7 separate regions of the Homo sapiens genome follow, and regions 1, 2, 3, 5, 6 and 7 are each linked to region 4. The links are contacts of gene promoters, found by promoter capture Hi-C in blood cells and fetal thymus (Javierre and others, 2016). All regions are on one chromosome and are shown on one strand. The core of a region is centred on a gene start or on the middle of the fragment in contact, and the rest is flanking DNA. Distances in the headings are between cores, read along the strand shown. Region 1 has its middle 15 kb from the start of FNIP2. Region 2 overlaps RXFP1 (relaxin family peptide receptor 1). Region 3 overlaps ETFDH (electron transfer flavoprotein dehydrogenase). Region 4 holds the start of RAPGEF2 (Rap guanine nucleotide exchange factor 2). Region 5 has its middle 310 kb from the start of MIR3688-1. Region 6 has its middle 4.2 kb from the start of PPID. Region 7 overlaps ETFDH (electron transfer flavoprotein dehydrogenase).

Region 1 (3,717 bases), core at 628-3,127, 350 kb after region 4:
TGGCTCACGCCTATAATCCCTGCACTTTGGGAGCCTGGGGCAGGTGGATTACTTGAGGTCAGGAATTTGAGACCAGCCTGGCCAACATGGTGAAACGCCATCTCTACTAAAAATACAAAAATTAGCCAGAGAATCGCTTGAACTGGGAGGCAGAGGTTACAATGAGTTGAGATTGCACCACTGCACTCCAGCCTGGGTGACCGAGCGAGACTCCATCTCAAAGAAAAACAAAACAAAACAATCAGGCCAGAGAGGAGGGGGAGGGAAGAGGGCACCAGGAGTAGCTCAGAAAAATGGAACTTAAATGTTTGGGCATAAAAAACATCATTGTTGGCTAGGCGTGATGGCTCACGCCTGTCATCCCAGCACTTTGGGAGGCTGAGGCAGGCAGATCACTTGAGGTCAGGAGTTCAAGACCAGCCTGGCCAACATGGTGAAACCCTGTCTCTACCAAAAAGAAAAATATTAGCTGGGTGCTCTGGCACATGCCTGTAGTCCCAGCTACTCTGGAGGCTGAGACAGGAGAATTGCTTGAACTTGGGAGGCGAGGTTGCAGTCAGCCAAGATAGTGCTACTGCACTCCAGCCTGGGCAACAGAGTGTGTCTCTGTCTCAAAAAAAAAAAAAAAAAAAAAAAAAAAAGTCAATGATAAGTATATGCAAAGACACTGGAACACTGGGAAAAAATTAACAATAGGTAAATGGAAAACCAAACGATGCAATGTGGCAGTTACTAACTTCAGAAAAAAATGAAAGCTATGCAGGAAAAGAGGTTGTAATGCATTATCTGGCTCTGTGCAATACATTGTCTTAATAATTAATGTTGACTTGATTTAACAAAAAGTTATTATACAACTATACTGGGACATGGGGGAAGGAAAGTAAAGTTAGCATAGGGTAGTAAGATCCTACTGTTTATTCACCATGGCAGGAAGTCAATGGACAAGGACTAAAATTGGCTAGTCAAGACATAGTGACATGAGCATATAAATTTTTTAAGATATAGAGTAAAATATCAGTGAAATTAGCTAGAAAAGTTGAGGGTGGTAACCTGTAGGGCTGAGACTGGGTGTGGGAAAGATTGCAATAGGAGACTGTTGTTTTTTTGCTTTTTTTTTGAGACAGGGTCTTGCTCTATCTCTCAGAATGGAATTAAATGGTGCAATCATACCTCACTGCAGCCTCGACCTCCTGCGCTCAAGCGATCCTCCCACCTCAGCCATCCAAGTAGCTGGAACCACAGGCATGTACCACCACACCCTGCTAATTTTTTAAATTTTTTGGTAAAAATAGGGTCTCACTATACTGCCCTAGCTGTTCTCAACCTCCTGGTTCAAGCGATCCTCCCGCCTTGGGATTACAGGCATGAACCACTGCACCCAGCCTGACTATTGTTTTTTTTTTTTTAATTACAATCTTTTTAGTACTATTTGACTTTTAAAATGTTACACATGAATATGCTATTTGTGCATTCTTCTTTGATAAAAAATACAGTCTATCTTAAAATAATCTCATCTGTGGACACTGTTAAAAATCCTATTTCTGGGCCAATCTGGTAAATCTGCAGTGGTGCTCAGGAATCTGAACTTTTAACTAGAACTTCAAGAAATTTGGAAGCAGATGGTCTATGGATGATACTTTGAGAAACAGCACTTAGATCCCTCAAATTGTGTACAAAGTATTGTAGGAATGTGCAGCTTTTTGAAGAGAGTCCACAATTTTTCAGATTCTCTTGTGATGCCTCAAACCTAAACAAGTTTAAAAATTACTGTTCTCTGCCTCCTGCTTGCCTGCCTTTATCCAAGAATAATTGAGATTCCATTACTTATTTAAGATCAAAAGCAGAGCTAATTATTGTTAAGTGAGTTAAACACTTTATAAAATTCATTAAATGATACAGATTGGAAAGCATTGGCTAAATTTTTAGTCCATTGCTTAGTATATTGCTATGGTGAAAACCAGTGCATTACTACTTGCAATGTGTTGGCTAGAAATCTAGGGGCTTGAAAAAGTTAGTATGAATCCATTGTTACCTACCATGATGTTGACCAACCCTGTAGCTAAATTATATTCAGTTGAAAAAAAAGTTCGTATGTGGTTATTCAATAATTTTTAAATGGTTATAACTGCCACTTACAAGTACTATAGTCCAACTGGAAAAATTTAATGCAGGTATTTTGCCAATTGCATACATTTAGACAACACTTTAGTAATTTTATTGTGCAAGCCAGTCTCTACCAAACTTTTTCAACACTTAAAAAAGAAAATTTAGCTAGGTGCGGTGGCTCATGCCTGTAATCCCAGCACTTTGGGAGGCTGAGGCGGGCGGATTACCTGAGGTCAGGAGTTTGAGAACAACCAACATCAAGAAACCCCGTTTCTACAAAAAATACAAATTAGCCAGGCGTGATGGTGCATGCCTGTTATCCCAGCTACTCAGGAGGCTGAGGCAGGAGAATTGCTTGAACCCAGGAAGCGGAGGTTGCGGTGAGCTGAGATCACGCCATTCCACTCCAGCCTGGGCAACAAGAGTGTAACTCTGTCTCAAAAAAAAAAAAGAAAAAAAAAAGAAAAGAAAAAATAGCCACTAGGTGTTGCCACGTTGCCCAGGCTGGTCTCAAATCCCTGGGCTAAGCAACCCTCCTGCCTCAGCTTCCCAAGTAGCTGAGAGTAGAGGCATGTTCCATTATGCCCAGCTTTTTTCAACCTTTAAAAATTTGTTTTTGTCTTTATAAAACACTATAGGAGTTCGTAAGATGTAATTTGGATACATAGCAAAATGTAATTTTATTTTTGGCATGAAATCCAAAACGGAAGGTATTACATTTTGATTTATTTTTTATAAACCCTTATACATTAAGAAATTAGAGAAATTAAGTTTTATTTTTGTGGAAATAAAAAGTATAAAACATTTTTAAAAGAAGATGCATCACATAGAAAAGTACAAACCAGCAAGTGACAAGTTAATATTTGTTGAATGAACAGTAACATATAGTATGACCATTATTTGTATTTAAGCTGATTATGTAGTAATTCACATATCAGAGGTGCCTCATTCATATGTCATCTCTGACATTCTTAGGTGTGGCATACCATTTCTTAAAAGTAATAGCAATCCCATGCATAGCACTTACTATATCTCAAGCCTTGTTCTAAGCATTTTCCTTGTGTGTATCTCATATTTCCTTTAACCCTGGCAACAACCCTCTGAGAGAAGTAGTAGTAGTATTCCCACTTTTTTTTTTTTTAAGAGACAGGGTCTTGCTCTGTCACCCAGGCTGGAGTGCAGTGGTGCAATCATAGTTCATTGCAGCCTTGAACTCCTGGGTTCATGTGATTCTACCACCTTAGTTAGCCTCCTGAGTAGCTGGGATGACAGGCATACACCACCACACCTAACTTTAAAAAAAATTTTTTTTAGAGATGAGGTCTCAGTATGTCACTCAGGCTGGTCTCAAACTCCTGGGCTCAAGCAATCCTCCTGCCTCAGCCTCCCAAAGTGCTGGGATTACAGGTGTGAGCCACTGTGCCCAGCCTCAAATTTGTAATTCTTAAACATAAACAAAATTGCATTGTTCTCAATGACAGATGGAGCTAAATTTAATTTATTCACTCTTATGAATGAAGATTACACTGCAAGAATGAGACAGGTTCAATATTAATTTATATTTTTAATTTTTTAATAGTTGTAAATGCTAAGAAACCTTATTCACATAAA
Region 2 (3,330 bases), core at 325-2,824, 460 kb after region 4:
AGGTGGAGGGGCAAGGGTCGTCTCCAGAGTCTCTTTTCTTTTCTTTTTTTTTCTTTTTGAGATGGAGTCTCACTCTGTCGCCCAGGCTGGAGTGCAGTGGCACCATCTTGGCTCACTGCAACCTCCACCTCCAGGGTTCAAGCGATTCTCCTGCCTCAGCCTCCTGAGTAGCTGGAATCACCACCACGACTGGCTAATTTTTGTATTTTTAGTAGAGACGAGGTTTCACCATGTTGGCCAGGCTGGTCTTGAACTCTTGACCTCAGGTGATCCACCCACCTCGGCCGCCCAAAGTGCTGGGATTACAGGCATGAGCCACTGGCCTGGACCAGAGTCTGTTTTCTAAGGGCACTAATCCCACTCATGAGGGCTCTGTCCTCATGACCTAGTCACCTCCCAAAGGCCCTACCTCCTTGTACCATTGCATTGGGGTTAGTATTTCAATATATACATTTTGGAGGAACACAAACTTTCAGTTTATAGCTGGCAAATTAGTAGAAAATATTAATAGATTGGATGCATTATCATAATACACATGGAAACAAATATTAACATCACAGTGAAAAACAATAAAATATCTACTTACATGTGAGAGAGATTCATAAGAGGTCTAAACATCCTTTGTTGGATATTTGAAATTTCAATCCCTTCTAGGCTGCTAAAAATATCAAATTAATAATCAATCAAAGGAACATGTATTATACATGGTTTAATAAATTGAGTTTCTGTGAAGGACAATTTAATAAAATGCTTTTAGTTAACACTTACTCTGAACAAAATAATTATACTCAACCCACCCACTTCCCCAAATCCTCCTCCTTCTGATTGTGTTATTTATACACGTATTATCTTCCTTATTTGATTTTTTTCAGATCCTCACAGATCATGGCACAATGCTTTGTGCATTTTAACTAATCAATAAATATGTGTGGAATAAATGCACAAGCATTATCTTTTGTACAATATTACAATAGCAGAGGATGCTTTACATCCTTGAAAATTTCCTAGTAATTTTTAATTAATAAATTTTTTTCTAATAAAATGTCATTTTACTGAGGGAACACTCAAATTAAATGAACTGAAGCTTACCTTTTTTTTTTTTTTTTGAGACAGGGTCTTCCTCTGTTGCCCAGGCTGGTGTGGTGGTATGAACAGGGCTTACTGCAGCCTCAACCTCCCAACTCAAGCAATGTTCCCACCTCAGCCTCCCAAGTAGCTAGGACCACAGGTGCATGCCACCACACTCAACTAATTTGCTTATTTTTATTTTTTTGTAGAGGCAGCATCTCCCTATGTTGCCCAGGTTGTTCTTCAACTCCTGATCTCAAGCAATCCTCCTGCTTCGGACTCCCAAAGTGCTGAGTTTACAGGTGTGAACCACTGCACTCAGCCCTGAAGCTTATCTTTTAAGGCAATTCTTTGGCTCTAACAGAATTTTTGTCTTTTTGTGTGTGTGTGGTACAAGTAAGGATTTATATAATCTAGCATATTCCATCTTGGGGTAAAAACACTTATAATAAATTATAAAATACCCAGTGTTAAGAGAGTGAATATGCACAGATGTCTTTGAAGGGTCAAAGCAAACAAATCAACATAAGCTCCTAATGACTTATAGAAAAATATAAAATAATTCATCATTATTTTTTAATTTACAAGTATATAAGATAAAACTAATAGTTGTCTGTTTATAGTTCAGCAAGCACCCATATGTTTTTGTGGAGCTAAACTAATGTCTTGGAAATAAAGCTTATGATTTGAAGTAAATATATAAAAATATACATTGTTAGTATTTAAAAAACAATTTTATCATAAAACTATCCCCATATGTGAATACTTACAGAGACTTGAGTTTGACAAGATAATCAAATTGGTTTGCTTGAATTTTCTGGATTGGATTATAGGAAAGATTCCTGTTTTTTAAAAAAAGCAGCAATAGGTCATTTCTAAAAACTACATGAGTAAAGCGAGTGAATCTGTTTATTTTGGGTTACTTTAACATATTTATGAACGAAAGTATACAATAACTCGTAATGGATGAAAGACTTAAACTGTAAAATTATAAAACGACTAGAAGAAAACATAGGTGGAAAGCCCCAGGACATTAACCTGGGTGATGATTTTTTTGGATATTGCCCCAAAAATATAGGCAACAAAAGTGAAATAGATGAATGGGATTACATAAAACTAAAAAGCCTCTGCACAGCTAAGGAAACAATCAACAGAGTGAGGAGACAACCTGTGTAATGGGGGACAATATTTGCAAATCATATATCTGGTAAGTGGTTAATACCCAAAATGTGTAAGGAACTCAAACAACTCAGCAAGAAAACAAATAAGCTGGTTAAAAATTAGGGAAAGGGCTTGAATAGACATTTTTCAAAAGAAGACATATAAATGACTAACAGGTATATGAAAAAGTGCTCAACATCACTAATCATCAGAGAAATGCAAACTGAAACCACAATATTACCTCACACCTTTTAGAATAATTTTTATCAAAAAGATGAAAGATAAGGGTTGAGGATGATTTGAAGAAAAGGTTGCCCCTTGCATACTGGTGATGGGAATATAAATTAGTACAACCATTATGGAAAATAGTATGGGGCTTCCTCAAAAATCAAAAATTGAACTACTACATGATCCAGAAATTCCTCTACTGGATATATATCCAAAGGAAATAAAATCAGTATATTAAAGAGATTTCTGTACTCCCATATTCATTGCAGCATTATTCATAATAGCCAAGGTATGGATTCAACCCAAGTGTCCATCAAAGGATGACTTGATAAAAAAATATGTATACATACACAATAGAATACTATTCAGCCTTAAAAAACACAGAAAATCCTGTCATTTGCAACAACATGAATGAATCTGGAGGACATTATGCTACATGAAGTAAGTCAGGCATAGAAAGACAATTACCACATGATCTCATTTATATGTGGAATCTAAAAAAGTTGAACTCATGGAAGTAGAGAGTAGAAGGTGGTCACTAGAGGCAGGTGGGAAAGGATTGGAATATATTGGTCAAAAGGTACAAAAATTTCACTTAGAAAAGAGGAATAAGTTCAAGACATCTATTGTGTAACATGCTGACTATAGCAAATAACAATGTATTGTATTCTTGAAAATTGCTAAGAGAGTAGACGTTAAGTGTTCTCACCACAAAAAATAAGTATGTGAGATGATGCATATGTTAATTAGCCCAATTTAGGCATTCCACAATGTATACATATTTCAAAACATCATGTTGTACTGATAAATATATACAATTTTTGTTTGTCAGTGAAATAAAGAGATAGCAATAGCATTGGCCTCACAGGGTTG
Region 3 (3,438 bases), core at 936-3,435, 400 kb after region 4:
AATTACTGTTCTCTAATGTAGAGGCAGAAGGCAAATCTTGATGTACTTGAGTTCTCTCAGTTGACATCCTCTAAAATTACGTTTCATTTCTGTGTTTGTGTGATTGCTCAGATTTTCTGTTACTAGGGCTTAGTTACTTTGTAGAGAAGTTTTTTCAAGGGGTAGTTAACATTAAAATAGTTTGTTAGTCACCATAATTTTTTGGATATTTTGAGAAATAACTCACATTGCATATTTATTTTACAGCTATCCAGGCAGAATTGCTGAAAGTCAAACAAAAGATAAAGGCACAGAAAGATAAAGAGAAGGCAGTATATGCAAAAATGTTTGCTTAGAAAGGATTCAGTTTTGCTTATTGTGTGTTGATTGTATAAATGCAATAAGAAAATGTAAAGGTTTTTGTCTATGAATATGATCCCTAATGTGTTTCTTTTGACACCTTAGTTCCTTACTGTTTACAGTTTAGGAGTACTGATAGGGGTTCATGCTTAATAAACATGTCACAATACAGTAAGTAAAGTGGTTTTGTTTGTTTCTTTGAGATGGAGTCTTGCTCTGTCACCCAGGCTGGAGTGCGGTGGCGCAATCTCGGCTCACTGCATCCTCTGCCTCCCGGGTTCAAGCAATTCTCCTGCCTCAGCTTCCCAAGTAGCTGGGATTACAGGCACGTGCCACCACGCCCAGCTAATTTTTGTATTTTTAGTAGAGATGGGGTTTCACCATATTGGTCACGTCACGTTGGTCTTGAACTCCTGACCTTGTGATCCACCCCGCCTTGGCCTCCCAAAGTGCTGGGATTACAGGTGTGAGCCACCGTGCCCGGCCAAGTAAAATGTTTTTTAAAATGGTTATGTGCATTATTCATAAAAAATAATGGTGTCCAGTCTTTTTAAACTTGTAAAGACACATCTTATTGAATAAAGAGATGAGAGCTTAAGTTTGTATATTGTTTCCTTCGATTCTTTGATGTATCCATGGTGGATGATGCTAGGTTTTCATACTTATAGATAATACACACACACACACACACACACACACACACACACACACAAACTTGTTCAGGGATGGGCATACTTCTTCTGCAAGGGCCAGATCATAAAGTTTTTAGGCTTTGTAGACCATGTAATGTCACACCCACTCACCTGCACAGTTGTAATTCAAAATTAGCCATAGACAATGTGTAACCAATGGGTATGGCTGTGTTTCAATAAAACTTTAGTCTAGAATATATATTCATTTTTATATTTGATTACTTAACTTTGGCAAGTCAAATGTAAAGTCCAGTAGTGAATTTTGCTCTTGGTACTGAATCTCTGAAGAACTGAAGAGGTAGGAAGATGCTGCATTCTTATAAAGGTTATTTAAAAGCAATACCCGTAATTTCTTTATGGGACAATCTTACATATAGTATAAAATTTTTATTTGATAATCATTTTGTGACTATTCTGTTCAGTAATATGCAGAAAGACATTCTGAAATCTGTTAATCTCTAAACATTTTAACGTTAGCTTGCCATACTTGAAAGAAACTGGCTAGCTGCAGTTTACATTCCATTGTAAGCAGGTCCTCCTCCACCTTCAGGTACCACCCAGTTAATATTCTGACTTGGATCTTTAATATCACATGTTTTACAATGTACACAGTTCTGAGCATTTATCTGTAACCGAAATCCATCACCTTGTTCCACAGGTACAAATTCATAAACTCCTGAAAAGTAAAAATAAATAATATTGAAGTGCCTAACTTTAAAAAATTTTTAAATTCAAAAGTAAAAATTAAGGAAAGAGTAGCCACAGAAACCTTAAAGGTTGCTTTCTGAATGCTTACCCATAGAGATTATGAAGACCTTGGTGCATTGCTATTGATGTGAGTGTAAATTACATGTACATAATAAAAGGAGGTACAGCGGTATTCAGCTGAGTTGTCTCACTATCAAGGGTACTCGACACTGAGTGTTTGAGTTCCACACAACCTCGAAGTCCTCCCTTATTCACAGTCATCCTCTCATTCACAGGGGACAAGTTCCAAGATCCCCAGTAGACGCCTGAAACCTCAGGTAGTACTCAACTTACATTGTCAGTCAGAACACGTTTCTGTTCATGTATTTCACCCACAAATGTGATGCCTTTTCCATCTTAAGGAAGCACTTGCCACACTCTGGCCATAACTTCTACAGTTCGAGGTCCAACAGCAAAACGCACAAATTTCTTTTTCCTCTTTCACAGAAGATACAGTCTTACCATAGACCTTAGCAACCTCAGCATAGGATTTTTTTCTCTTTATAGAGAACTTTCTCCTTTCACTTAAAGGAAGCACTTTATGGCATCTCTGAATTGTCAGCATCACTACTCTTGCGTTGTGGGGATATTTCTAAAGGGTTACTGGACACAAGTATGATAATGTGACAGTAAATCTGATAACTTAGATGGCTACCAAGTAACATAACGAATGTTAGGTGTGAATATGCTGGACAAAGGGATAATTCACATTCAGGGTGGGGCAAGCCCGAATGGTACACAATTTAAAACTTAACGTGCACAATTTAAGACTCAAGAATTATTTGTTTCTGGAATTTTCTTATTTTCAGACCGTGGGTGACTGGGGGTAAGAGGAGCCTAACGGTACAGCTAAAAAACCAAATTTAACCTCAGGGAGTTTTCAACCCACTGTAATGACAAAAGCCAAAAGACCAAGTCACAGTGTATCTTCTTTTGTGAATGTACTACTTTTCGAGTATCGGAATACTATTTTGTTCTACCATATCATTTGAGACCTGGTTCCTATTACTGTAATTTCAGTTGAAAGCTCAGCACTGAAAGAATATTCATGGTGAATTTAAAGTTTCAGAGCATTCCTTGGACTGAATGTAATCATAATGTGCTGTTCTAGTACATGCACCCAAATACATACAGATGAGCTGCCATGACAGAAATGACTTTAAATAGTCACATGAACCTGCAAAGAGAGGTATTTCATTTTCAAGAATCTTCATCTTAGTCTGAGTGTAGACAAAGGGCTTTTTTTTTTTTTTTGAGAAATGTTATCTGAACTAGGCTTAACAAAACCAGTAGTTAAAAGTATGTTTCCTAAAGGAAGCTGGATGAAGTCATTTACAATTTCTAAGGAATGGAAGGAGATACAGAAATCATTTTTTAAAAGAACAAAATCACATTCCTAAAATGTTTAAAGCAAATATTTAGGAATAGATGGAAATTATTACCTGCAGGACAGAATCGCTGCTCGGGCCCATCATATATCGACAGATTTCTATTTACAGGTATACTGTCATCCCTTAAGGTTAAGTGTGCCGGCTGGTCATGTTCATGATTAGTACCACTCAGAGCCACAGATGACAAGAGGTCAAAACTGATCTGTCCATCGGGTTTTGGATACTCAATAGGTGTGCAATCCTTGGCTGGCTTGAGCCGTTCAAAGTCA
Region 4 (3,827 bases), core at 497-2,996:
CATACAAACACCTCAATGTTTTACTGAAGGTCAGCATGGATTTGTCTTTAGCACAACCGTACAGGTTTCCTCCTATACCTTTCAAACACCACTGAACTCCAAGGGTCACTTGCAAGGGGAGGAACGGATCTGGAGTCAGAGGGAGCAAGAGTCGCTGCCCGAGGGGAGATGAGACTCCATCCCCTGAGATTCAGAGGCCACGGAGGGCGGCTGGGGAGAGGGAAAGCTAGAGAATTCACACATTCACACACATACACACACACACACACACTCTCTCTCTCTCTCTCTCTGTCTCTCCCTCTCTCTCTCTCTCTCTCTCTCTCTCTCTCTCTCTCGGCTGGGCAACATAGTGGGAAAGGTCAGTCATGGGGAGGGAAGAGTTAAGGAGCAGAATGTCAAGGAGAGGGAAAAATAAAACCAGGATAGGCGGAGTAAAAGACTCGGAGGTGGGATGCCTTTGGAAGTTGGGGGTCCTGATGCAAGAAGTGGGGTGCTCGGGGCGAACTGTGTCAGGAAGGAGGTGGGGGGACAGGGGAAGACGCAGCCTGCGAGGCAGAAATCCGGCCAAGGGCAGGCGGCCGCCGCGTTCTCACCTGGGGGGTCCTTTCGGGGGGATTCTTCATCACCGCCTGGCGGAAGCTGTTATCTACGTAGGACGCCATCTCCCCTCTGGGAGCGGGCCGGGGCCGCTCCGCACCCTGGCCGGCCTCCTCCCGGCCCAGCGCCGCTGCTGCCTCCGCCCTGCGCGCTGCGCCCGCCCGCCCGCCCGCGACTAATCAGCCAAACCGCGGCGGCGGCGGCGCGGGGCCCGCGGGGGGGCGGCTCGGCTGGGCCCGGCGGCCGAGAGCGCGGTACAGGCGCGAGGGGCTGGACGCAGCCGGGAGGGTCGCGGCGCCCCTAGGCTGCCGTGCGATGCGGCCCGCAGGCGGAACTCCCCTTCCTCCTCCTCCTCCTCTTCCTCGCCGCTCCGCCGGCTTCCTCCGGCCCTGGCTCGACACGCCTCCCCGGCTCCACTCGGGGGACAGTGGCGGCTCCTCCTGGCCCCAGCGGGCCCGAGTTATTTTTAGGGAGGTACGAGTGGCAGTGGGGAGGGCTGTGGGCAGGCGGAGCCTCCTCCCCCACGGCGCTGAGGGTCGCCCCCTCCTCTCAGGGGCTTGCGCAGCCGCCGCCCAGGGGTCTCCGAGAATCACTTGGATCTTCCGCGTCCCCAGTCCTCGGGCGCCTCGGCCGCCGGTCGGGAGGACGGACCAGGTGGGTCTGGCTCAGGTCCGGGCGCTGCGAAGCCCGATCGCCTCGGCCGCCGCTCCTGGTCTCTGTCTACTGGGCTCGGCCGTCCCTCCCGACTGCTGCTGCATCCCCTCGGGCCGCCCAGCCGCCGCCGCCGCCGCCTCTGCTGCTCGGGCCGCCGCTGTGGGCTCCGCCGCCGCCGCCTCCCCCCATCAGCGCGCCCGGAGCGGAGCTGCCCCGGCGCCGGCGCCGCCGCGGCCAGAGCACCCGGCCCGGGCTGCAGCCCTCCGGCCCAGTCGCTCTCGGCAACTTTGTTCCTCGTCTGCGCGGGGCGGAGGAGGGGGAAGAGGGGGCCGCGGACAGCCCGGGTTCGGACTCCCGGCGCGGGCGTCCGAGGGCCGAAAGCCGAGAGCCGCGCACAGCCCCCTCGGAGAGAGTGTTTGGGAAGCGGCGATTCCCCTCCTCTTCCTCCGCCTCTTCCTCCTCCTGCGCCTTCTCCGGCCGCCGGAGCCGCTCCTCAGGGAGGAAGCGGCCTCTGGGGCTTGTTGCTTTGTGCTGCAACCATGGTGAGGAATGAGTGACAGCGTGGGGGCGAGTCGGCGGCCGCCGCATCATCGGGGGGCGGGGCAGCCCCGTCGCGCCGGGTCCCGCCTCCCCGCTCCCCGCCCGCCAGCGGCCGCGCCCTCGCGTCTGAGCGGCACCTTCGGCGGCGCCCAGGTGAGCAGCGCTCTGGCCGCAAGTGGGTCGCGGAGCCCTCGGCCGGGCTGTCGGGTCCCGCGCGCGGCCTGGACCCGAAGAGGGGGCGCAAGTCCTGGTGCCCCGGAGAGAAGCGCAGGGCTTTCCTCACGCAGTGTCCCCCACTGTCTCACGCCGCGCCCCCTCCCCACACCCGACGCGCCCTACTAGGAGACCCAGCCGCGTCGGGTCGCTGCTCCCCGCCCGCTCCTGGCGCCACGCCGCCGCCCAGGGGCTGAAAGCTAACCTTGGGCAAAAGACCGGCCCACCAGCCCGGGCTGTACTGGGCATTCTTTTTGAGCCCAAGAGTTGCGTCCGAGTTGCTTCTGTGGCGATAAATCCTCTTAGGATTTATTTTGCTTATTTGTAATTTGCTGCACCCTCCCCTGCTTTCCAAGCCCACTCTGGCACCTCAGACAGTAAAATGACCACGAAATTAGGCAGAGAGGTTTCAACACCAGACCCACTACCACCCCTAGACCAACAAACACTCCAGATTTAAAGTTGATCACTCCTTAGCGACAGACCAGGATGGCAAGTTCTGTGACATAATCAGAAACATTTATTGGTAGGTCTGGCTTTGCCTTGGACAGAACAAGCCTCCTCCTCTAGATGCTCAAATTTCCAAACCGGACCCACATGGTGCAGAAACAATACCTCGTCCTTCAAGATGTCACCGCTCCTGCTGATTCCCTCAGCTCCCCCCCACTCCTTGCCCCGGCCACGTAGAGGTGTGTTAAGGTCAGCCCAAGCATCGGGGACCACTCTGCTGTTCTGGTCCCAGGGATTTATTTTTGTTTGCCCCCACCCCCCACAAGTTCTTATTTTGATATCTATAGACACAATGAGTTTTATGTATGAGCTACTGCGTTGAACTTTTCAAACATGATTTTCAACATCTAGTTTAAACACTTGGAATAGATTGTCAGCTAACATTTTGGGGTTCCTTAAGTCACCTGTGTGCACTAAACAGCTTGTGTGACTTCCTAGCAAAGGGACTGTCCCTGCCCAACCTTGTGAAAGGGAATCTGAGTTACAAATTGTATCTGTAGACCTTTTTATATTACTCTTGCTGGAACTGCTTCTCTATATTTCTCTTTCACCTCTTAGTTGAGCGCCAACATCAAATTCTCTATGACATAGGCCACTACCTTGAAAGCAAAGGAACATGAATAAGTGCCAATACAGCTCTGAAAAAAGGAGAGAGGCAGATAAAAGAATTCAAACCCAATGAAGTGAAAAAATATAACTGACATCTCCACCTGGTGTCTAATAGACATCTCAGAATTCACATGTGCAAACCAGGCTCCAGATCTCCTGTCTCAGACACCCACAGCCTTCCCCATCCTCTGTTAATCACATCTACACCATTCTCACTTCCTGGGTGAAAACGTTGACTTCCTTGACTCCTTTCTTTCTGTTATACCTCAAAAGTGTCAGTAAAAATCGTCAGCTCAACCTCCAGAATGCCATATCTGAACTCTAACCTTTATCTACCACTTCTACTGCCATGACCCTGGTGCAATCCAGCATCATGTCTGGCCAGCACTTTGTCATAACCACCCACCTGGTCCCCCTCTTTCTAACCTTGCTTGCCATACAGTTCATTTCCAACACAGCAGCCAAAGTGTGAATTCTTTTCACTCCTTCTCAAATCATTCCTCTGCTTAGCTCCTCATACCACTCAAGGTAAAAGCCAAAGTCTTACCATGGCCTGAATATCCTATGGACCTTTATCTCTCTGACCTCTTCTACTATTCTGTTCCCAAGCACATTAGCCTCCATGTTGTTTCTGAAACAGCAAATTCCAGTCTCATGACCTTTCCATCTGCTGTTCCCTCTACTGCCTGGATTATCTCTCCCCC
Region 5 (3,805 bases), core at 209-2,708, 340 kb before region 4:
AGAAGTGAGTGACAAGAGAAGGGAAGCAAGGAGGGAGGGAGAACCAGTACAAGAATGCATTTTTGATCTGGCCACAGCTAAATGCAACTCATTGCTGGATCTGTAGAACTGCACCCCTGAGACGTTACATAAAATGCATCTTGGTAGGATTGGAAAGGGTGTCTGGTTTCCCATTAGTCAGAGGTTCACCACCAGGATGTTAATTTCACCATCACTTCCCACTTGCACATGCACCTCTAGGAGGCAGAAGTGACTGGACAAGGATGGTTAGTTAGTGTGGTTTTAATGGGCCTTGAATGATGGCTGGTGGATTTGGGGATTGATTCTGCAAGCACTGAAGAATTACAGAGATTTTTGAAAAGGAAAGTGACATGATCAAAAGGGAAGATTTCCCTAGTTGTATGATCTCTTTATAGAATCTTCATCATCTACTGAAGTGAAATATTTGTGGAAGTTTCCTTTTTATCCCTTGAGAAATTGGCATGGTAGGGATGAATGCCCATTCTCACTTCCAGAAGAGGCAGCATCAAGCAGGACCCATGGAAGATAGTAAGATTGGGTTGGCCAAAAACTAACTTGGCCAATGGATGGGACTTAACTGGAAAGTTTAATTCAAATTGAGAGAACTCCAGAAAGCAACAGAATAATATTTTGGTCTCCCTTGAGGATTTGGGAGTTATGGATTCGGAGGTTCTGCCTTCCCTCCCACCATCTTATCCACACAGGCACCTGGGCAAGGTAAGAGCCTGGCACTGCCAAGCCAGATGGTGGAAGCTTTTGCTGCCAGCATCCTCCAGTGGGATGGGGCAGACTGTGTTCCCTGCCGGCTGGTTTCTGAGTGCTTTCAGTATACAGCAAAATCAGGGTGGATAGTATAAGCAATCTTTCATTCGTATAGCTGTTTATAATATAAACCACTTGTCTAAATATTTACACATTTAATCTCCACAACTTTCAAAACCATTCTGATTCTCCCTCCTTACAGTTCTCTTCTACCCTCAACCAGAGCCATTCGTGAACTATTTATCCTCTCTGTGGCTTAAATGAAAAAAAAACTGGAAAATGCAACAATTCTACCAAATGATAGTCCTCACCTCAGGCTTTGGGGAAGTTATAAATGAGATAGTGTATAAAAGGTGCTTAGCACAATGCCTGGCACAATGAAGGCCCTTAACAAATATTAGCTGCTATTTTCATTATCATTGTTTTTGCTATAGAGTATCACAATATTTTTATTAGTACTATTATCATCATCATCTGGCATTTGGTTCCATTATGAACCTTCTAGAACTAACCCTAAATTATTAGGAGATAGTATAAAATGCCTAGCTTAACACCGAGCATAGAGTGTCACTCAATAAACACTAAAGATGTTACCTGCAGTTTCCCAAGGGAGGAGGGGTACAAAGTCACCGCCTCTAGCACTCAGGGATAAGTAATTCCAGATGCCAGCTCTGAGATCTTTTCCTAGTCACTGGAATTCTTACATGATCCTATGATGATGGTTGTTTAATGGTCAAAAGCACAGACTGTAGAACCAGACATCCTGAGTTCAAATCCTACTCTACCTTGGGTAGTTTACTTAACCTCTAAGTGTCTCAATTTTATATTTAAAATAAAGAAGTCAATTGTACTTACCCCATGGAGTTTTATAAAAATTAAGTGAGTTAATAAACATAAAAGAGCTTGGGAAAATACCTGGCACATAGTAAATAGCATATAAAAATTAGCTAGTAGTGCCTTTCTTTATTCCCTTCTGCCTGTGGGCTCACCTCATATTCTCATCCAAATTCTCCTCTCCTGCATCCTAAACACACACACACACACACACACACACACACACACACACACGGTCCCAGTGTCTGAGCCCCTGATCTGCTGATGGTTCCCAGTTGTAATAGTCTATACTAACACTAAGATACCCCATTATTATTGCAGAAATTCAACCACAAATGGTATGATGAGGTTGGAGTAATGCCAAAACTATCCTCAGGCTTCTGACACAAAGCCACAAAGAGCGACAGTACCTTAGTACATTAACAAAAATACAGAGTTCACTCTTACAAAGACCTACAAGTTTGACTTTCCCAAGTCTCATGATTGGCCAAGTTCAAAGATACCAACTGATAGTAACAAAGCTTTCAAAATCCTCATGTGTAAGCCAGCGTGTCAATTTATAAACTTTCAGCAAGAAATATATTTAGTTAGGGGTTTAGCACTTCATATTATCTAGCCAGCATATTTTGTTCCTATAGCCAAACTTCTCAGGTTACCAGGTCTCACTGGTTTACATGTGAGTTAGTTAACAGATCTAAATGTTAAACTATCAGGCTCTCAAAACATGATGCAATCCTCTCAAGAAAAGGTATATTATCTGCTCAAAGAACTGACAAGTCATTGGGTCAAGATGTTCTCTACCCAGAGTGCACCTATGTGGTCGTTGCCAACATTTGCCCCTAAAACAGGCTGATCTGTTTTTGTTTTTGATGTTTCTATGGATGACCAATTTCTCCCACTTCATTAATTAACATAGTATTTTGTAGGGGAAAGAAAAGAAATATGCCAATAATTTTAGTCAAGACTTGATCTGGACTATAAGATTATATTATGTATATTTATGCTGATGATTCTTGAATAGTTATGTATTTAATTCTTTCAGAGTAGTCTTATTGTCCTTAGTTCTATATTCTTGAAGGACATTATGTTATACCCCTAGGAAGTACCTACATTCTCTTTTGGACTTAATGATGATAGCTGGGCCCCTGGACTAAATATTTATTATAGATTCTATATGATACCGTGCTTGACCAATCAAGCTGTACATGTGCCTATCTGTCTAGTTCCATTCCTGTGCCTTCCCAGTACAATCTACATCCTAAACTCTGTTTCTACTTTCAGATCTTACACACCTTTATTAACGAATATGGCACTTCTGGCCAGGCGTGGTGGCTCATGCCTGTAATCCCAGCACTTTGGGAGGCTGAGGCGGGCAGATCACTTGAGGTCAGGAGTTTGAGACCAGTCTGGCCAACATGGTGAAACCCAGTCTCCACTAAAAGTACAAAAATTGGCAGAGCATGGTGGCAAGTGCCTGTAATCCCAGCTACTCGTGAGGCTGAGGCAGGAGAATTGCTTGAACCTGGGAGGCAGAGGTTGCAGTGAACCAAGATCATGCCCTCACACTCCAGCCTGGACAAAGTAAGACTCCATCTCAAAAAAAAAAAAAAAGGCACTTCCGCTGTGTTATGGGATGAATTGCATCTCCTCACTCCTTCACCATTCATATAGCAAAGTCCTAAGTCCCAGTACCTCAGAATGTGACTATATGTGAGGATGGGGTGTTTACGGAAGTAATTAATGAGTTCACATGGGTAGGCCCTAGTCCAACATGACTGGTGCCCTTATAAGAAGAGACAATTAGAATACAAGCACACACAGAGGGAAGACGATGTGAAGGCAAAGGGAGAAGATGGCCATCTACAAGCCAAGAAGAGAGGCCTCAGAATAAACTAACTCTACCAACATCTTGATCTTGGAATTCTAGCCTCCAGAATTGTGAGAAAATACAGTTATGTTGTTTAAGACACTTAAACAACAGTCTTTGGTACTTTGGTATGGCAGCCTGTGATGGTTAACTTTACGTGTCAATTTGACTGGGCCACAGAGTGCCCACCTGTGGCCCAATTTGGTCAAACATTATTCTGGGTGTTTCTGTGAGGATGTTTTTAAATGAGATTAACATTTAAATCCCTAGACTGAATAAAGCAGATTGCCCTCCTTAACGTGGGTGAGCCTCATCAGATCA
Region 6 (3,332 bases), core at 474-2,973, 380 kb after region 4:
TGTCTAGTTCCCATCTACCTAATCACACCATGAATCTTGTTCTCTTTCTGGGGCCTGTTGCCTTCCTGGGACAGTTCAGGAATCAAGGAACACGTCCCTCTGCTCCTGGATTTCACAAACCCATCTATGGAGGTTTGGTGGCTTCCCAGGTATGTGACGGGGACCATGGTAAGACTCCCTGTCTCTGGGACTGTGGAAATCTGCCTTGCCATTGCCTCCTCTCTCACTTTCCCCTGTGCACCATCCACAATCTTGTCATCTCCCAACACAGAAAGTGGGTTTTTTGTTTGATTTTTTTTCTGAGAATGGAAAGCCATGATCTTATAAAAGATGTTTTGTCCAAATCTTTTGCTATAGCCAAGAGTCTTATCTGTTTCTGTAAAGCCAAGCCTTTTGCAACACCAAAGACAGGAAGAGATTCCCTTTGTTCCCTCTGCTTTCTTTGCTGTCACTTCTTTCTTTAAAAGCAAAGAGCACAGAATGCCTAGCTGCTTGTTTGGGGTGATGGGCAATGAGATTGAGAAAAGAGAATATTGGGGAGGAAGGCAATCTATTAATATTATTCTACCACATTTATGAGCAACAGGCAGAAATTATAACAACAAGGCTATCAGGAAAACTCCCCACTCCATCTGGATGAAACTGTGTTAACCCTAAGAAACGGGGCATGCTTTTGCCTCTTCTGCTCTTTTCCTTGCTAAGCACAGACAAGATGTCAGAACTCAGAAGTCCTGTTCCATGTAATCAGACTGACAGTAGAACAAGTGTTTTCTAGGAAAAGGTTTATCTTTTCACTGGAGATCCAGTTCTGAGTGGTTTTGAAAGGTACAATTCTTTTATTTGGTTTGGTTCTAGGAATATGACAGTTTATATAAAGCTGTTGCTTTACTGTGAAAAACCTAGACATAGTGAGAGTAACATCTGAATTAATCTTTTACACCCAGAAACCAGTAGAGCAGAAAGAGTCACTTTTTTTTCCTTGTAAGAATGCAAAGGAATCCTCAAAACTCCTTTGCAGTTTTAATATCCATTTTGAAATATGTTGATGTAACTATTATAATGAAGTATTAGCTACTTATGGTTAGTAATTGCTTACCCTTATTGAGTACTTACTGTGTGTCAGATACTAAAACACTTTTATTTAATATTTTTCATTTAATCTTCATAATAACCTTAGGAGATACATATTATTATTCTGATTTATAGGTGAGGAAAGTGAGGCACAAAGAGGCTAAGTAACTCGTCCAAAGGCACAAAATATGATGTGTTACAGACTGAATGTGAACCCCAGAATTCTGATGGCAGAGAAGATATGCCTACCTAAGTATATTCATCATGATAATAATGGTTGAGAGGCTATGGCATATGGGTGTCAATTCTTGTAATAAAATGTTAAATTTAAGCTAGTAGATCAGAATAAAAATGTTAATGTGAACTTATTGTGATATATGTGAGACAAAGTTACCAGTTTGCAGCCAAGACATGAAACTGGATTAGTGAATGATTTTGATGCTCTAGTTTATCAAGGGATACAGAAGTTTTGTTCTGAGCCGTCCTGGGTCTTCAGGGAACCACCATGAATAAATACCGTGAATAAACACCAGGAATTGGAGAACATAAGAAATTAACATTTTATATTTATGTTAATGTGCTGGAATTTGGAAGGATCAGCATGAAAATCTGATACACAGAATCATTTTGAATTACACTTAAAGGCATGGAAATAAAATTTCTTGTTAACATTGTTTCATAAAATTCTCAAAGCCATTAGTATTTTGTATAATTCATTCATTCAAAAATATTTACTGAGCACCTACTATGTGTCAGGCACTGTTAGAAGTGCTGGGGATAGAGTAATGAAAAAAACAAAGGTTCTTGTCCTTGTGGAGCTAAATTTTGTTTTTTTAAACTCCTCTTACTATCTATCATTCCCAAGGAGCTGATTTTTAATGAGTATGTGAAATAAGTAAGTAAACAGTATATTACAAAGTTATAAGTGCTATGGAAAGGTAAATTAGGGGTATCTTTGAGTTTGCTCCTCTTAGTGTTCTTTTTCCTTTCTATTTCAGGGATAAAATGGGCTAGGTTATAAAACTGTTACTCATTTTGAAAACTCAATCTGAAGGAGCTGGACAAAAATACAAACCAAAGCATGACTTCTGATTTCAACATTGAAACCAGTTGATATGGTTAGGTCCCAACCCAAATCTCATCTTGAACTGTAATCCCCATAATCCCCATGTGTCTAGGGAGAGACTCCAGGTGTCTAGGGAGATCGGATCATGGAGGTGGTTTCCCCCATGCTGTTCTTGTGATAGTGAGTGAGTTCTCATGCGATCTGATGGTTTTATAAGAGGTTGTTCCCCTTCGCTCCTCACTCTTCTATCTCGTGCCACCACGTGGGAAGGTCCAAGTGTGCTTCCCCTTCACCTTCTGCCATGATTGTAAGTTTCCTGAGGCCTCCTTAGTCATGTGGAACTGTGAGTCAATTAAACCTCTTTCCTTTATGAATTACACAGTCTCGGGTATTCCTTTATAGCAGTGTGAAAAATGGACTAATACACAAGTGGTCCACACCCACCTGAAGTAGCAGCACTATCTAAAAAACTGGCTTCTCATGGAGAAATAACATTCTCGTTGCCCATTTTCACTTTATAAGTATATATAGTTCCCCTCCTTTGAAGATGCTCTTTACCTGTTCCCTCCTTACCTGTCTTCCTTGCCACATATGCTCCTGTGACTGATCTTACTCATATTTCTGACCTTAGAAAAGGCTACTGTGTTCAGTGCCCCTGCTGTGTGCTGAATGTGATTGTCTTTTTCCTATTAAAACACTAATTATATTGCATTGTAGAGGTTTATTCAATAGTCTTTCTCCCCCATAAGACTGTATAATTTGTGTAGTTAAGGATAAGGGGCCAGGCGTGGTGGCTCATGCCTGCAATGCTTTTGGAGGCCAAGGTGGGCAGATTGCTTGAACCCAGGAGTTCAAGACCAGCCTGGGCAACATGGCGAAACCCCATCTCTACTAAAATGTTAAATTTAAGCTAGTAGATCAGAATAAAAATGTTAATGTGAACTTATTGTGATATATATGAGACAAAATATAAGTTATCAGTTTGCAGCCCAGACATGAGACTGGATTAATGAATGATTTTGATGCTCTTGTTTATCAAGAGACACAGGAGTTTTGTTCTGAGCCGTCCTGGATCTTCAGGGAACCACCATGAATAAATACCATGAATAAACACCAGGAATTGGAGAACATAAGAAATTAACATTTTGTATTAACTTTAATGTGCTGGAATTTGAAAGGATCAGCAAGGAAATCT
Region 7 (2,700 bases), core at 177-2,676, 410 kb after region 4:
ACTAGGGAAACCAGTAAGATTAAACAAGAAGTGCCCTTCAGATGTCAAATCGTGTAAAGAATCTGAAATGGAGGCCTGTAACACATGAAGAACATGAAGGTGGAGAGAAACTGTCAGGAAAGCTTACATCTCAAATGAGTGAAGACTTCATTCAATAAACAAAAATAAAACAAAACAGGGAGAAGCTGAAGACAGACCAAGGATGATAAAAGTTTATTTTTGGAGCAAGAAAAAAGGGGAAAATAGGTCAAAAGTGTAATTCTGATGAGGAGAAATAGCAATAGTCTGTAACCCTTGGTTTCTGTTTTCTCTGTGGAGGAAAATGCTCGCTGGATAGTAAAGTACAAAATGTACAATGCAATTACACAGCAGATTGTAAGAAAGCATGGGCATGGAGAAGTACAAGAAAAGATTAGCAGCAATGGATATGAACCCACCCCCCCACAATATATATATATATATATATATATATATATATATATATATATGAAGGTTTTATTTGAGATCCTGAAAACGAACAAATCAACAGCAGAATATGGCTACAGACTAAACTGAAGTTTGGCTCAGTGTACCCTCAAAAAACCCTGGCAAAGAGATCAATAATCTGTTGATGGTAATCATTAAGGACCCGAGAAAAAGAAAAGTGATACAAGTGACTATAAGTGTTCATGTATGTATTCCAAAAGTGAAAATCATGGATTCTACAAACCACCTACCTGTGACTTTGACACCGATTCCAGTCAACAATGTTTAACAAGGAGAAATGCAAAATCCCACACTTGGGTCCAAAAACCCCAAATGCATGTATATGGGTTAGGAAAACAGAAATTTATAGCAGCAAGTATAATACAGGGACCTACGTGTTTTATTTGACTTACAAACTGTAAGGGTAAAAACAAATAAAAAAAACTGAATTTTCCTTGCTGCCAATAACTTTTCTTTCAGCATTTCCTTTAGCAAACTTCCAACTGTAAATCCTTTATTTGTCTCTCTGAGATACATGGCAGTCTTTTTAAACTGCATTCCAGGAATGTCTTTTTTAGGGCTTTGGAGCCATTGCTTTGAAATGGAACACCAAGAAGGATGCCTCCTGTCTTCCTGTGTCTATGGGAATTTGGGTAGGTGTTTGGCTCTAAGTTGTAACTTCCTGCTTGTCAAAAAACAAAACAAACAAAAAAACCAACAACAAAAAAACGAGATATTTTATTTTTCCTTAGAGTAAAAACAGTTAACATGTATGTAATGAATAGATTGTATCTGTAAAAACAGTTAACATGTATGTAATGAATGGATTGTATCTACCTGGCTATTTAAAAGGGTGAGATTTCTGTCTTGGCCTGTGATATGCATCAGTCTTGGTTTAAGCCTAATTCAAGAATAAAACTGTTTCGTTCTTTTTTTTTGTTTTTTTGAGATGGACTCTTGCTCTGTCACCCAGGCTGGAGTGCAGTGGCGTGATCTCGACTTACTGCAAGCTCTGCCTCCCGGGTTCACGACATTCTCCTGCCTCAGCCTCCCAAGTAGCTGGGACTACAGGTGCCCACCACCACGCCCAGCTAATCTTTTGTACTTTTAGTAGAGACAGGGTTTCCCCATGGTCTCGATCTCCTGACCTCGTGATCCGCCCACCTCAGCCTTCCAAAGTGCTGGGATTACAGGTGTGAGCCACTGTGCCCTTTTTTTTTTTTTTTTTGAGACAGAGTCTCACTCTGTTGCCAGGCTGGAGTGCAGTTGCACCATCTCGGCTCACTGCAACCTCTGCCTCCCGGGTTCAAGTGATTCTCCTGCCTCAGCCTCCTGAGTAGATGGGACTACAGGCGCCTGCCACCACACCCAGCTAATTTTTGTATTTTTAGTAGAGAGGGGGTTTCACCATGTTGGCCAGGATGGTCTCGATCTCTTGACCTCGTGATCCGCCCACCTGGGCCTCCCAAAGTGCTGGGATAACAGGCATGAGTCACTGCACCTGGCCTGTTTCATTCTTTTTTATAATTTATGAAGAGAATTTTTCTGGGTCCTCAGGCGATTTTATTTTTTATTTTTTGAGATGGAATCTCGCTCTGTCACCCAGGCTGGAGTGCAGTGGCATGATCTCGGCCCACTGCAACCTCTGCCTTCTGGGTTCAAGCAATTTTCCTGCTTCAGCCTCCCAAGTAGCTAGGATTACAGGCACGTGCCGCCATGCCCGGCTAATTTTTCGTATTTTTAGTAGAGACGGGGTTTCACCATGTTATCCAGGATGGTCTTGATCTCCTGACCTCGTGACCTGCCTGCCTTGGCCTCCCAAAGTGCTGGGATTACAGGCATGAGCCACTGCGCCCGGCCAAGATTTTATTTTTAATAATTTCCCCAGTAATGCATAATAAGAATCAATAGTGTGATGTAGTTGCCAAAAAAGTAATTACTTTGAGGGAATTAATGGAAGACCAGTTTCTAGAATGGAGAAGATAACAGTTCTACACTAGACATGAAGTGGTTTATTCATTCTGGGTGCCACTTTGTAAAGGGGGTAAGAAGAGGTTCCATTCAGAAGTGGGCAGCAAGAATACTGAAAGAACTCAAAACTCAAATTATGTACCGTCATGGCTGAAAGCACTGAGAATATTTAAGCTAGTGCTGGGGCTCTTAAGATAATACCCTAAAAAGTATGTCCCTGGCATGCTGATGTTGAGGCTCAGAAACCGATATCCCAAAATATGG

Evidence for each region. Contacts are between HindIII fragments. The CHiCAGO score rates a contact against its expected background, and 5 or more counts as called.
Region 1: a contact is called between a fragment that was not itself captured here and the fragment with the promoter of RAPGEF2 in region 4, in 11 of 17 cell types (non-activated CD4 T cells, naive CD4 T cells, activated CD4 T cells and 8 more). The highest score is 13.1, in non-activated CD4 T cells.
Region 2: a contact is called between a fragment that was not itself captured here and the fragment with the promoter of RAPGEF2 in region 4, in 4 of 17 cell types (total CD8 T cells, naive CD4 T cells, naive B cells and 1 more). The highest score is 7.9, in total CD8 T cells.
Region 3: a fragment that was not itself captured here is called in contact with the fragment with the promoter of RAPGEF2 in region 4 in 17 of 17 cell types (non-activated CD4 T cells, naive CD8 T cells, naive CD4 T cells and 14 more); the score reaches 22.7 in non-activated CD4 T cells.
Region 5: a contact is called between a fragment that was not itself captured here and the fragment with the promoter of RAPGEF2 in region 4, in 1 of 17 cell types (endothelial precursors). The highest score is 5.0, in endothelial precursors.
Region 6: a fragment that was not itself captured here is called in contact with the fragment with the promoter of RAPGEF2 in region 4 in 17 of 17 cell types (non-activated CD4 T cells, activated CD4 T cells, naive CD8 T cells and 14 more); the score reaches 33.8 in non-activated CD4 T cells.
Region 7: a contact is called between a fragment that was not itself captured here and the fragment with the promoter of RAPGEF2 in region 4, in 11 of 17 cell types (non-activated CD4 T cells, total CD8 T cells, activated CD4 T cells and 8 more). The highest score is 18.6, in non-activated CD4 T cells.

Annotation. Positions count from the first base shown.
Region 1 is chr4:158,752,504-158,756,220 of GRCh38, reverse strand. No RefSeq gene overlaps it. Among named protein-coding and RNA genes, the nearest start is that of FNIP2, 15 kb to the left of the region's middle. The HindIII fragment of the contact is 5,362 bases long and covers 1-3,717 here.
Region 2 is chr4:158,636,588-158,639,917 of GRCh38, reverse strand. RXFP1 (relaxin family peptide receptor 1) reads right to left here. Exons shown (of 18, transcript NM_021634.4): 13 at 1,839-1,910; 14 at 587-658. Among named protein-coding and RNA genes, the nearest start is that of C4orf46, 34 kb to the left of the region's middle. The HindIII fragment of the contact is 348 bases long and covers 1,401-1,748 here.
Region 3 is chr4:158,706,633-158,710,070 of GRCh38, reverse strand. It overlaps ETFDH (electron transfer flavoprotein dehydrogenase), which reads right to left. Exons shown (of 13, transcript NM_004453.4): 12 at 3,221-3,438; 13 at 448-1,707. The coding sequence ends at 1,544. PPID (peptidylprolyl isomerase D) reads left to right here. Exons shown (of 10, transcript NM_005038.3): 10 at 247-944. The coding sequence ends at 335. Among named protein-coding and RNA genes, the nearest start is that of PPID, 15 kb to the left of the region's middle. The HindIII fragment of the contact is 4,560 bases long and covers 1-3,438 here.
Region 4 is chr4:159,100,998-159,104,824 of GRCh38, reverse strand. It overlaps RAPGEF2 (Rap guanine nucleotide exchange factor 2), which reads right to left and starts at 1,746. Exons shown (of 30, transcript NM_001394067.2): 1 at 594-1,746. The coding sequence starts at 662. RefSeq lists silencers at 607-1,026, 994-1,288, 1,037-1,326, 1,367-1,586, 1,717-2,256 and an enhancer at 1,905-2,596. The HindIII fragment of the contact is 5,553 bases long and covers 1-3,827 here.
Region 5 is chr4:159,441,285-159,445,089 of GRCh38, reverse strand. No RefSeq gene overlaps it. Among named protein-coding and RNA genes, the nearest start is that of MIR3688-1, 310 kb to the right of the region's middle. The HindIII fragment of the contact is 1,364 bases long and covers 777-2,140 here.
Region 6 is chr4:158,725,935-158,729,266 of GRCh38, reverse strand. No RefSeq gene overlaps it. Among named protein-coding and RNA genes, the nearest start is that of PPID, 4.2 kb to the right of the region's middle. The HindIII fragment of the contact is 5,384 bases long and covers 1-3,332 here.
Region 7 is chr4:158,687,384-158,690,083 of GRCh38, reverse strand. All of the region lies in intron 5 of ETFDH (electron transfer flavoprotein dehydrogenase), which reads right to left. Among named protein-coding and RNA genes, the nearest start is that of ETFDH, 16 kb to the right of the region's middle. The HindIII fragment of the contact is 2,604 bases long and covers 125-2,700 here.